Linked DNA regions of Homo sapiens: region 1 is linked to region 2. The links are contacts of gene promoters, found by promoter capture Hi-C in blood cells and fetal thymus (Javierre and others, 2016). All regions are on one chromosome and are shown on one strand. The core of a region is centred on a gene start or on the middle of the fragment in contact, and the rest is flanking DNA. Distances in the headings are between cores, read along the strand shown. Region 1 overlaps KCND1 (potassium voltage-gated channel subfamily D member 1). Region 2 holds the start of KDM5C (lysine demethylase 5C).

Region 1 (4,497 bases), core at 1,650-4,149, 4.3 Mb before region 2:
GTATATGTGGTGCGAAGTGAGCACCCATCCTTAATTTCTATTCTATAAATTGGCAATAATTCTAATCCGAGGATCAGAGATTAATGCTTGTGAAGGGCCTGGTGCTGTGCCCAGCACATAGGAAGTGTTCAATAAAGTAGTCTGCATGGTGGTGCAGTGGAAGGATCCCAGGCTTTGGAGCCAGAAAGACCTCAGTTCCAGGCACAGATGGACCATTACCAACTGTATGACCTTGAGCAAGTCATTGTGTCACTTTTGAGATTACCCATGTGTAAAACAGGAATGATAATACCTGCCCAGACTACCTCAGGGAATGGTTATGGGGTTCAGATGAGCTGATGAACCAAGAAGGTATTTGGAGTTCACTTCCAGTCTTAGGAGACAAACCATACAACAGGTTGACTGAAAGAGACCATGGGAAAGCTGTTTTGAGTATAGCCTTGCCTCCCTTGAGATACTAACCCTAGTTGAAATTCTTCCCTGAAAGGTGTAAGTAATAAATGGGCTCTAAGTAGTGTTTTCTGCTCATGAGACTTAATAGGAGGGGACTTTCACGTTTACCGGGCCTGTTGTGTTCAGGGCTCTGTGCCAAATGCCTATGCACATTATCACATTGAATCTTCTCATGATCATCTCACTCCAGCCCCATATATTTCACTCACTACACATCTAAAACTGAACTCATGATAGCAATCATGGCTACCCTTCACCAAGTACTTACTATGTACCTAGCACTGAGTGCTGACAGCTCTGATGTTCCCTTTACCAGGGAATAGCACTCCCATCCAGCCGTCGTCCAAGCCAGAAACTGGGAGTCAACTTTGACTGCTCCCTCTTCCTCAACTCCCACATGCCTGTCAATCCCAAGTCCTGCCAATTCTGCCTCCCAAATCTCTAGACTCTCCAATTCTACTGCCACTACTCTGGTCCAAGCCACTGTCCCCTACCACCTGGACTATTATAAAAGCCTCCACCCTACTTTTCTTCCTTCCAGGACTGTTTCTCTATATCCACTCTCCACAGCCAGAATGATCATTCTGAAACACAAACTTCATCATGAGTTTTCTGTTTAAGTCTTTAGAGGTCCCCACTATCTTTAGGATGAAGTTTAAAATTCGCGTCATAGCTTCAAAGCTTTTTATTATCTAGCCTACCTCTCCATCCTTCCTCTCCTCACAGCCTCACACTCTCCTCCCCAGCTGGACTGAACTACTTTCAGTTCCCCAAAGGCCTGAGCTCACTCTCCAACCTCCAGGTCATTGCACATGCTGTTCCCTCTGCCCAGAACATTGCATCCTTTCATTTGCTGCCTGGCTAACTCCAACTCATTCCCTGTGTGTTGGCCAGGTTAAGTTCTCCTGCCATCTGCATGCCTCTATAACACATGGATCTTAGTTCTGCCACACCATGTTGTAATTACTTGTCTGCCTTCCATGCTCAACTATACATCAGAGACAATGTCTACTTTGCCCACCTTTGTATCCCTAGGGCTGGCACATGATGGAAGTTAATAAATATTTGGTGACTAAATGAATTATCCCTATTTCACAGACTAGCAACCTGAGGCAAGAGAAGGTAAGTGATTCTCTCACCCAGGGATTGGAACCCAGATCAACCTGAATCCATGGTCTGTCTGCTCAGTGCTCTATAGAACTCAGCCACACACTAGCCTAGTGTAGCCAGTAGCCCAGAAGAGAGAATGTAGGGGGCGTCCACAAGGAAGGGAAATTCACCAAACAAAGTGATGCTTTTATTAGGGTTAAATTCAGGGTTGTTTGCTGTCAGGAAGCCTGGGTTTAAGCCTCCTCTAACTAACTATGTGTTTCTCTGGGTCTCAGTTTCCCGATCTGTGAATCAGGAAGCTGGCGCAGATGATATCCAAGGAGGAATGTCTCAGGACCCCCTGGCCTGTCTCACTGGCTGTAGATGAACTCCTCAAACCACACTCTTTCATTTCTCCTGGATCCCCATCTTCCAGAATACATCACCAACCATCCATCTCCCATACCTTGACCCATACCAGCCCTTCTCCTAGCCAAAAGGGATTGAAATCAGAGTGTTTTCAACCCCCAAGCCCAACCCAGCCCCCAAACCCACAGAGCCAGGAGATACTCTCAGTCCTCATCTCTCCTCTCAGGTTTTATTGACTGATGGAAACTACATCTTTGTCAGCCACCAGCTCCATGGGGACAGTGCTGGGGACAGGGAACCTGAGATGATGCCAGATTTCAGCCTGAGAGCAGAGTTTTGGAAGGTCACCCAAGAGGGAGAAGAAAGGAATATGTGAAAAGGAATTGTAGGGGAGGAGGAGGAGGAGAAGTTCCTCCTGTCTCCTATAACTCCCAAAGTTCAGAAACATCCCAGGCCGGAGCCCCTGATGCTTCTGGACTGTTGCCCAAGAACATGGAATCAGCCCATGATCTCCAAATACAGCCCAGCTCTTGCTGGTTGCCAGGCTCTTATCTCAGCCAGTCCAGACTCCAGCCCAACCCAGGAAGGACGCAAACCAGAGGAGAAGAGAGGAGGAGGAGGAGTTAGAGGTGGCCCCTCTGATTAGGGCAGATGTAAATGCTGCAGCAAACTGGTCAGAGGCTTTGCATAATGACACGGCAGCAGCTGCTATTGCTAGAGTTTGCTGGGGGCCCAGCAGAGGACAGGGTTGCGGGGTCCATTTCCAGCAGCCAGGGAAGGGGATGGTAGAATTTGTGCTATCTGAGTGTGTGTTGGGAGAGGCAGCCTGACCCCTCAGGCAAGGCCTGGGGATGGCAGGTCGCTGCAGAGGCCACAGCCCATGAAGCCTGTGTTTGCATTCCAAGCTTCAGAATCTGGGAATTGTTGGGCCAGATGGAGATGAGGACCTCTCGTAGAGGCCAGATCAGAGGTGAGGGTTCTCTTCTCTGAACCTCCAAAGCTCCATATCCCAGCCAGAGGGAGGAGGAAATCTCAACTCTCCTTCTTAGGCTAGAGCTCAGATGTCGGATCAAAGCTTTGCCTTCATCTGAGAGCCCAAGGGGAGGAGCATGCAGGAGTCCAGCTGGGAGAGTGGGGCCAGTCCCAGTGTGCTAGGGCAAGGAGGCCAGGGGCCTGTGGAAGCCCAGTGCTTCAGCTCCCACCAGGAAAAATGTCTGGGGTGGGAGGAAGTTTCTCATTTCCTGGCTACTTCCCCACTATGTGGACCATTTCATGAAACTCCATTGCATAGTTCTCAGTGGGGGGGGCAGAAGGGGTGCCCAAGCCTGCCCCTCTCTGCCTCCCAAAAATATGGCTTTGGAAAGGAGTTCCCAAAAATGAAGAGGACCCTCTGAATCAGCAGGCCTACCCCTCACAGGGATGAGATCTTGACAGTCTCGGGGAAGAGGCAAGGGGTACCCAGGCTGGAGTTCCTGAGGGTGCTGCCGGCCCTGCCACCGCCGCCAGGGGAGGAAGGTTGGCTCTCATCTGGGGTGTTGGCAGGAGGGGTAGGGATGCTGATAATGGCAGCCACGAAGTCCCGGCTGTCGCAGTTCAGGTCAAGGCTGTCATGGGGCTTGGCATTGAGGCTGGAACGGCTGTGGACAAGGGTGGAGAAGATGGAAGGCTCTTAAAAAGTTATCTTAGGCCGGGTGCGGTGGCTCATGCCTGTAATCCCAGCACTTTGGGAGGCCGAGGTGAGTGGATCATCTGAGGTCAAGAGTTCGAGACCAGCCTGACCAACATGATGAAACCCCGTCTCTACTAAATACAAAAAATTAGCTGGGCATGGTGGCGCATGCCTGTAATCCCAGCTACTCGGGAGGTTGAGGCGGGAGAATTGCTTGAACCCGGCAGGCAGAGGTTGCAGTGAGCTGAGATTGCACCACTGCACTCCAGCCTGGGTGACGGAATGAGACTCTGTCTCAACAAAAAAAAAAAAAGAAAAAAAGTTATCAGCCGGGTGCTGTGGCTCATGCCTGTAATCCCAGCACTTTGGGAGGCCGAGGCGGGCGGATCACGAGATCAGGAGATTGAGACCATCCTGGCTAACGCGGTAAAGCCCCATCTCTACTAAAAATACAAAAAATTAGCCAGGCGTGGTGGCAGGCACCTGTAGTCCCAGCTACTCAGGAAGCTGAGGCAGGAGAATGGCGTGAACCCAGGAGGCGGAGCTTGCAGTGAGCTGAGATTGCACCACTGCACTCCAGCCTGGGTGACAGAGTGAGACTCTGTCTCAAAAAAAAAAAAAAAATTAATACTTGCCACAGCAATCATGGCATTTATTGAGCACCTACTGGGTCCCTGGCACTGTGCTAAGTACTTAAGTACTTCTCCTGCATCCCCAATTATGGTGGTAAAGAGTGAGGACTCTAGAGTCAGATAGTCCTGGGTTCAAATCCTGGTCCCACTTTAACCACTCCAAACCTCTCTCTTCTCTCATCTGTAGCATGGGACGAACACTATCTCCCACCTCATAGGGTTGCTGTGGAGATTAAATGAGATTAAAAATGATACGAAGTGCTCAGAGCAGTGTCTGGAACACAA
Region 2 (4,957 bases), core at 2,208-4,707:
GGGAGGAAGCCCCAGGGGGTGGGGGTAAGTGCTGGGATGCCTGACTGTGGTGGCAAAGAATGGGAGGATTTGGGGAGGGAAGTCAGGGAAAGATCATGAAAGTGGGAGACACTCTGCTCTGCCAAGTTGGAGCTTGCTGTGTCCTGCCCAAAGGTCAGCTGTGAAGAACCCCCTCTCCAACACCCCTTTCCAACCTCCTATGCAGACCTCTCCTTCCCAGAGCCCTGGCTCCTGCTGGGGTGGTGAAATCAACCTAAAGTAACCTAAACCAATGTTCTCATTTTATAAATGGGGAAAGTGAGGCTCAGAGAAAAAAAGTGAAATTTCCAAAATTACATGCTGAGTTAGTGGTGGGGCCAAGAACCCACGTCTTCTGACCTCTGATCCAAGGCCTTTGCACTACACCAGACATCAATGTTCATACATACATGCATACACGTGGGCGGGGGGGAGAGACAGTGAAAGAGAAGAAAAACTGTTGACCTCTTCTGCACACACACTTTTAGAAAATGGGCTAGAGGACTCATATTTTGCATGCATACACAGACCACACTCCCCTGCCCCTACCAGCCAAAGCAGGTGGCAAACATCTGGGGCTCAGTAAGCAGGGACAAAAAAAAAAAAAAACAGGCAGGCCAAAATGGTATGGCTCAAATCCAGACAAGCTCCCCATGCCCTCTTGCCTCTCATCAGGATAGGGCACTCCCCTCAGCACAGGTAACCCAGCTAAAAAGGTGCTCAAACCCAAAACTCCGGGCACCCTTCTTTCCTGCTGAATCAAGTTCTAGACAATCAGTGCAACATCAAGCACCTGACAGGAAATGGCAGCCCTGGAATGCTACGGCAGGAGCCATGGATGCAACAGATACCTGGGAAGGCCCTGCAAACCGCCTGCCTTCATCTCCAGACTACTGTATGCCAAATGTATGTTGGTATTACTGGGATGTGGTGATAAAAAAAAGGCTGGCTACCTGATGAAGAAAGCAAGATCCTTCCAAACTCCACTGGGTCTACTCAGGGTACCCACACTCTCCTCCCACCCATCTTTCCCAAGCGTAGCAGTCACCTGCCCAGCAATTCAGGCCCCAAACCATCCTTCCTCCAGCAAACCTCCAATTCCCAGGTACCCACCCATATACAGGTTCCCACCCTGGGCCCAAGCATCACTTGAGCGAGTACTTCAAACTTCAACCAGAAGAAGGCCAGCTGCCTAAAGGTGGCCTAGGAGCTGCCATAGAGAAGGAAAAAACAAAACCAAACCAGAGAGCCAGGTATCCTGGATTAGAGAGAAGCACACTGTTGAGCAGTGAAAAGGACGGCCTCCTGCTGGCCATGCACACCTGGGACATGTCACTCTTCCCCTTCCTGATGCCCCAAAGCAGGGTAACAACACCTACACAAGGCCAGCCTGCCTAAGTCAGTCCAAGATAGAAAAAAGGAATTCAGGCCTCAACTACCCCCTACGTCAGCTATGCCTCTTTTTCCCACAGGCTTGCCCAACCACTTCAGGGAGTGCCTCCTTGAGGCTGCCCAGGACTCCTGCCTCTCCCTTCCACTAGCCTTCCTGACCCTCTACCCACTGCCACTCCCTCACCATGGACAAGGATACCTCAGAAATCTGTGGCCAGACTCCAAGAAGGAAGAAATTCGCTTACCCAACACCTCCTAGAGGATCTATCTGAAACCATCCTAGATCTGTGGCTGAGCACCAGAAAGCACCAAGTTGGATAAGGAGGCCTGTGGTGCCCTCCTCAGGTGGGAATGAAGCTTCCTATTCCATTTCAGCCAGGAGACACCCACTCAAAAACACCCTTTTCCAGCAAAGCTCAATTTCTGCCCTTGGAATCCCAACTGATCACTGAACATTATCATCACTTTTCCACCATATCAGCAAGGCAGCAGCTTGCCCTAGCCCTTGGGAGACTTCTAGCCTGAAGCCAGGCCTAGGAGGAAAGCTATGGCCTTTGTTGCTGACCCCTGGCAATCATGTTCCAAAAGGGACAGAATTCCATGGCTCCATTCTGTTCTGCGGGCCCAAGAGTGCCCTATCCTCTGGGATCTCCTACATCCTGGACCAGAGGAGAGTAGAAATCTTCTGAGAAGGACTCACACCCCACCACCAAGCTGACCGGTCCAAACATCTCCATAGGAAGTCAAGTCTGCGGGATGATGTGCAGAAAAGGCCTTGACATTGCCTTCAACGAGGAAAAGAAGAGGACAATTCCCTGAACCCACCTCAAGGGAGACAGAGCAATCCCTGTGAGACTGATTTCCTGACTGGTCCAGCAGGCCAGGATATTATCATAGATGAATTGGCCTGGCAAGGTATGAGTAAATATGAGTCAACCTACATAGGAATAAACCAATGACCACATCAAACACCCTCACAGTCACAATAATTACCACTTATCTAGTGCGTACTACATACAGACGCTACCTAGTTTAATTCAATCCTCTAAATAACCATTTCTGGGATCCATTTCACGGGCTCAGAGAGATTACTTCTACTTTCCCAAGGTCACACAGCTGCTCAGCTTCAAAGTGGAGTTTTGAACTCAAGTCTGTCTCCCTTCAGGACTGCGATCTTTCTATTAATACTATACTATGCTGCCTGCCTTAAAGGAAGTGATGACAACAGATTGGAGAAACGTCTTATTTTTACAGCCTCGACCTAGGTGGCCCGGGCTAAGAGATGTGCGGGGTGCCTCTCTGTGAACTCCCTCCGGCCCACTAGGAATCCCTGTCTTAAACCCGGAGTGATTCTGAAGGGCCGGGGTGGGGGTGGATCTCTGACTCCAGGTCACCTGTGGGCCTCACACCACGAGAGGACCCCTGGCCCAACACCCTTTTTCCGATCCGCGCCGCAACCACAACGGTCCCAGCCACCCCCTCTCCCCACCTCGAGCTGCCCTCCGCCCCAGACTTCGCCGCTGGCTATCCTACTGCTTCATTCCGTCTCGCCGCCGGCGAAAACCGGCCCCGGGGCTTACCGCGGGTGGGCGGATCTTGCAAATGCCCGATTTCTCTGCGATGGGCCTGATTTTCGCGATGTAGCCAAGAGGGTCTCGGAACTCGGCCCAGCTAGGCTCGAACACCGGGCACTCCGGTGGCGGTAGGAAATCGTCGGACCCCGGCTCCATGGTGGGCCCGAGGTCTGGGCCAGGGATCGGGAGGCTTGGACCGCCCTTAAGGACTCATGGCGCCGCCGCTGTTTGAAGCCGAGGCAATGCTCGGAGGCTAGGCCCTAAGCGGGGCAGCCGCCGCCCGCCGAGGGCCTAAGGGGGCGTGTGGCCGTCGTGCTCTGAGAGTCTCAGGCTGACTCTACTGCTACCGCCTCTTCGTCCCGCTCCGTTTCTTCCAAACTGTGTGGTTGCCTCCCCACTACCGCAGCCTTCGCCACCACAGTTACCTCCCAAACGCCGCGGCCTTCAGCGCCGCCGCCGCCATCTTGGTTTGTCAGCGTCTCCCCTCCCCACACCACAACAAACCGGATCCTTCCGCGGGGTGTCCTTCCGAGCCTCGTATACGTTGCGTCACACCAAGCCCTAGGAAACCTTCATATAGTGGAGACCGAGCTAAATAGGCTGGTATGGGTTTCTATTTGGAAGGGGTTACTCAAAAGTACCACCCCGGACTGAGAGAAAATAGTTCATTGCAACGGCGGAGGAACAAGATTGTAATTAGTTTGCCGGATCGTCTTTCCGGATGGACCGGCGGTGCACGTTTAAAGGCCAGTGATGCGCATGCGCGTTATGGAGACCGGAAGAGGAGCTGGTGTCCGTGGGTGGTGGAGTCAAACCGGCACTCCCCCGCAGACCTCAACCAGGTCGCTAGCCCCGCACCAGTGTTCTCTGTCCCTTCTCCCTGGTCTTAACGGTATGGGCCGCGGAAGGCGGCTCTGGGAGCCTGATTGCAAAGGACCCCTTATGCTGGCCCGCGGGATGGGGGGAGATGTACTAGGCTCCAGCTCTAGACACTGACACCTCTGGGGCTTTGAAATAAGGAAGGCAGGAAGCTGCTCACTCCCCGGGGATTATGGATTTTTAGGATTCTGAGTCCCAAGTAAAGGAAGGAAATCTTTATTTCATCCAAGGTTACAGGTAGAGAGATGGGGTTTCGATTCTTACCCCCCAAAAGTCACTGGGAGTCAGCATTTTAATGAACGCTTTCAACTGTTCTGTATTCACTTTTACCATGTACACATTTGTGGCATATACTCCTACAAAATAAGCCTGTGTGTATGTATACTTTAACTATTGGATGTTTAGCAACGGCGTATTTATCCAGTGTCAACTGTGTAAAACACCTGTTTGCCCATTTGTGAGCCTACAGTGCACTTACCAAACATCCGTGTACTTTTATTGTATTTATTGTGTATAGCCCCTGTGCATTTGGTACCAACTGTATGTACATTTAGTCCTATCGTGTGCATGTTCCTTGAGCAGTTTCTGAATAGGTTCATTGCAACTACAGTACTTTGAATGAGTATCATCAAACCAGTACTTTGTACATATACATCAGGCATCTACTGATTGGAGGATCATCTGTGTCATTCATCAGCTGTGGACCTACTGCATATAGTTTGAACACCTACTGTGCAAATATTTGAGTACTTGCGTACATGCTGATTAAGTAATTTTGTTTTCCCCCATCAGACTATGAATTCCTTAAGGGCAGGGACCATGTGGCCTTATACATCCTTAGCACTTGGCATGTTAAGCAGTAAATGAATGTTGAGTAAACAAAAGAAAAATGAATAAATGTCCTTAGTATATATTGACTGAAAAATATGAATACTTTTTGCAAACATTTCCTGTTTAACATATTAAACATCCACTGTAAGCTCGAGGCAGATAGGGAGTGTCATACCTTCGTGCAGTTAACTGTTCCTAATCAGATACTGTGCCAATTAGGTCCATCCTGCCTACTTCAGGACTGAGCTAAGGACATCCTGGCT

Evidence for each region. The method cuts DNA at HindIII sites, captures the fragments that hold promoters and counts their contacts. A CHiCAGO score of 5 or more calls a contact.
Region 1: a fragment that was not itself captured here is called in contact with the fragment with the promoter of KDM5C in region 2 in 1 of 17 cell types (neutrophils); the score reaches 5.9 in neutrophils.

Annotation. Positions count from the first base shown.
Region 1 is chrX:48,959,259-48,963,755 of GRCh38, forward strand. KCND1 (potassium voltage-gated channel subfamily D member 1) reads right to left here. Exons shown (of 6, transcript NM_004979.6): 6 at 2,122-3,548. The coding sequence ends at 3,323. It also overlaps the pseudogene RNU6-722P. Among named protein-coding and RNA genes, the nearest start is that of OTUD5, 3.9 kb to the left of the region's middle. RefSeq lists a silencer at 2,330-2,624 and an enhancer at 2,573-2,722. The HindIII fragment of the contact is 170 bases long and covers 2,815-2,984 here.
Region 2 is chrX:53,221,750-53,226,706 of GRCh38, forward strand. It overlaps KDM5C (lysine demethylase 5C), which reads right to left and starts at 3,458. Exons shown (of 26, transcript NM_004187.5): 1 at 2,991-3,458. The coding sequence starts at 3,140. It also overlaps a transcript of IQSEC2 not described here. RefSeq lists enhancers at 3,000-3,099, 3,340-3,719, 3,558-3,852, 3,730-3,779. The HindIII fragment of the contact is 15,929 bases long and covers 1,766-4,957 here.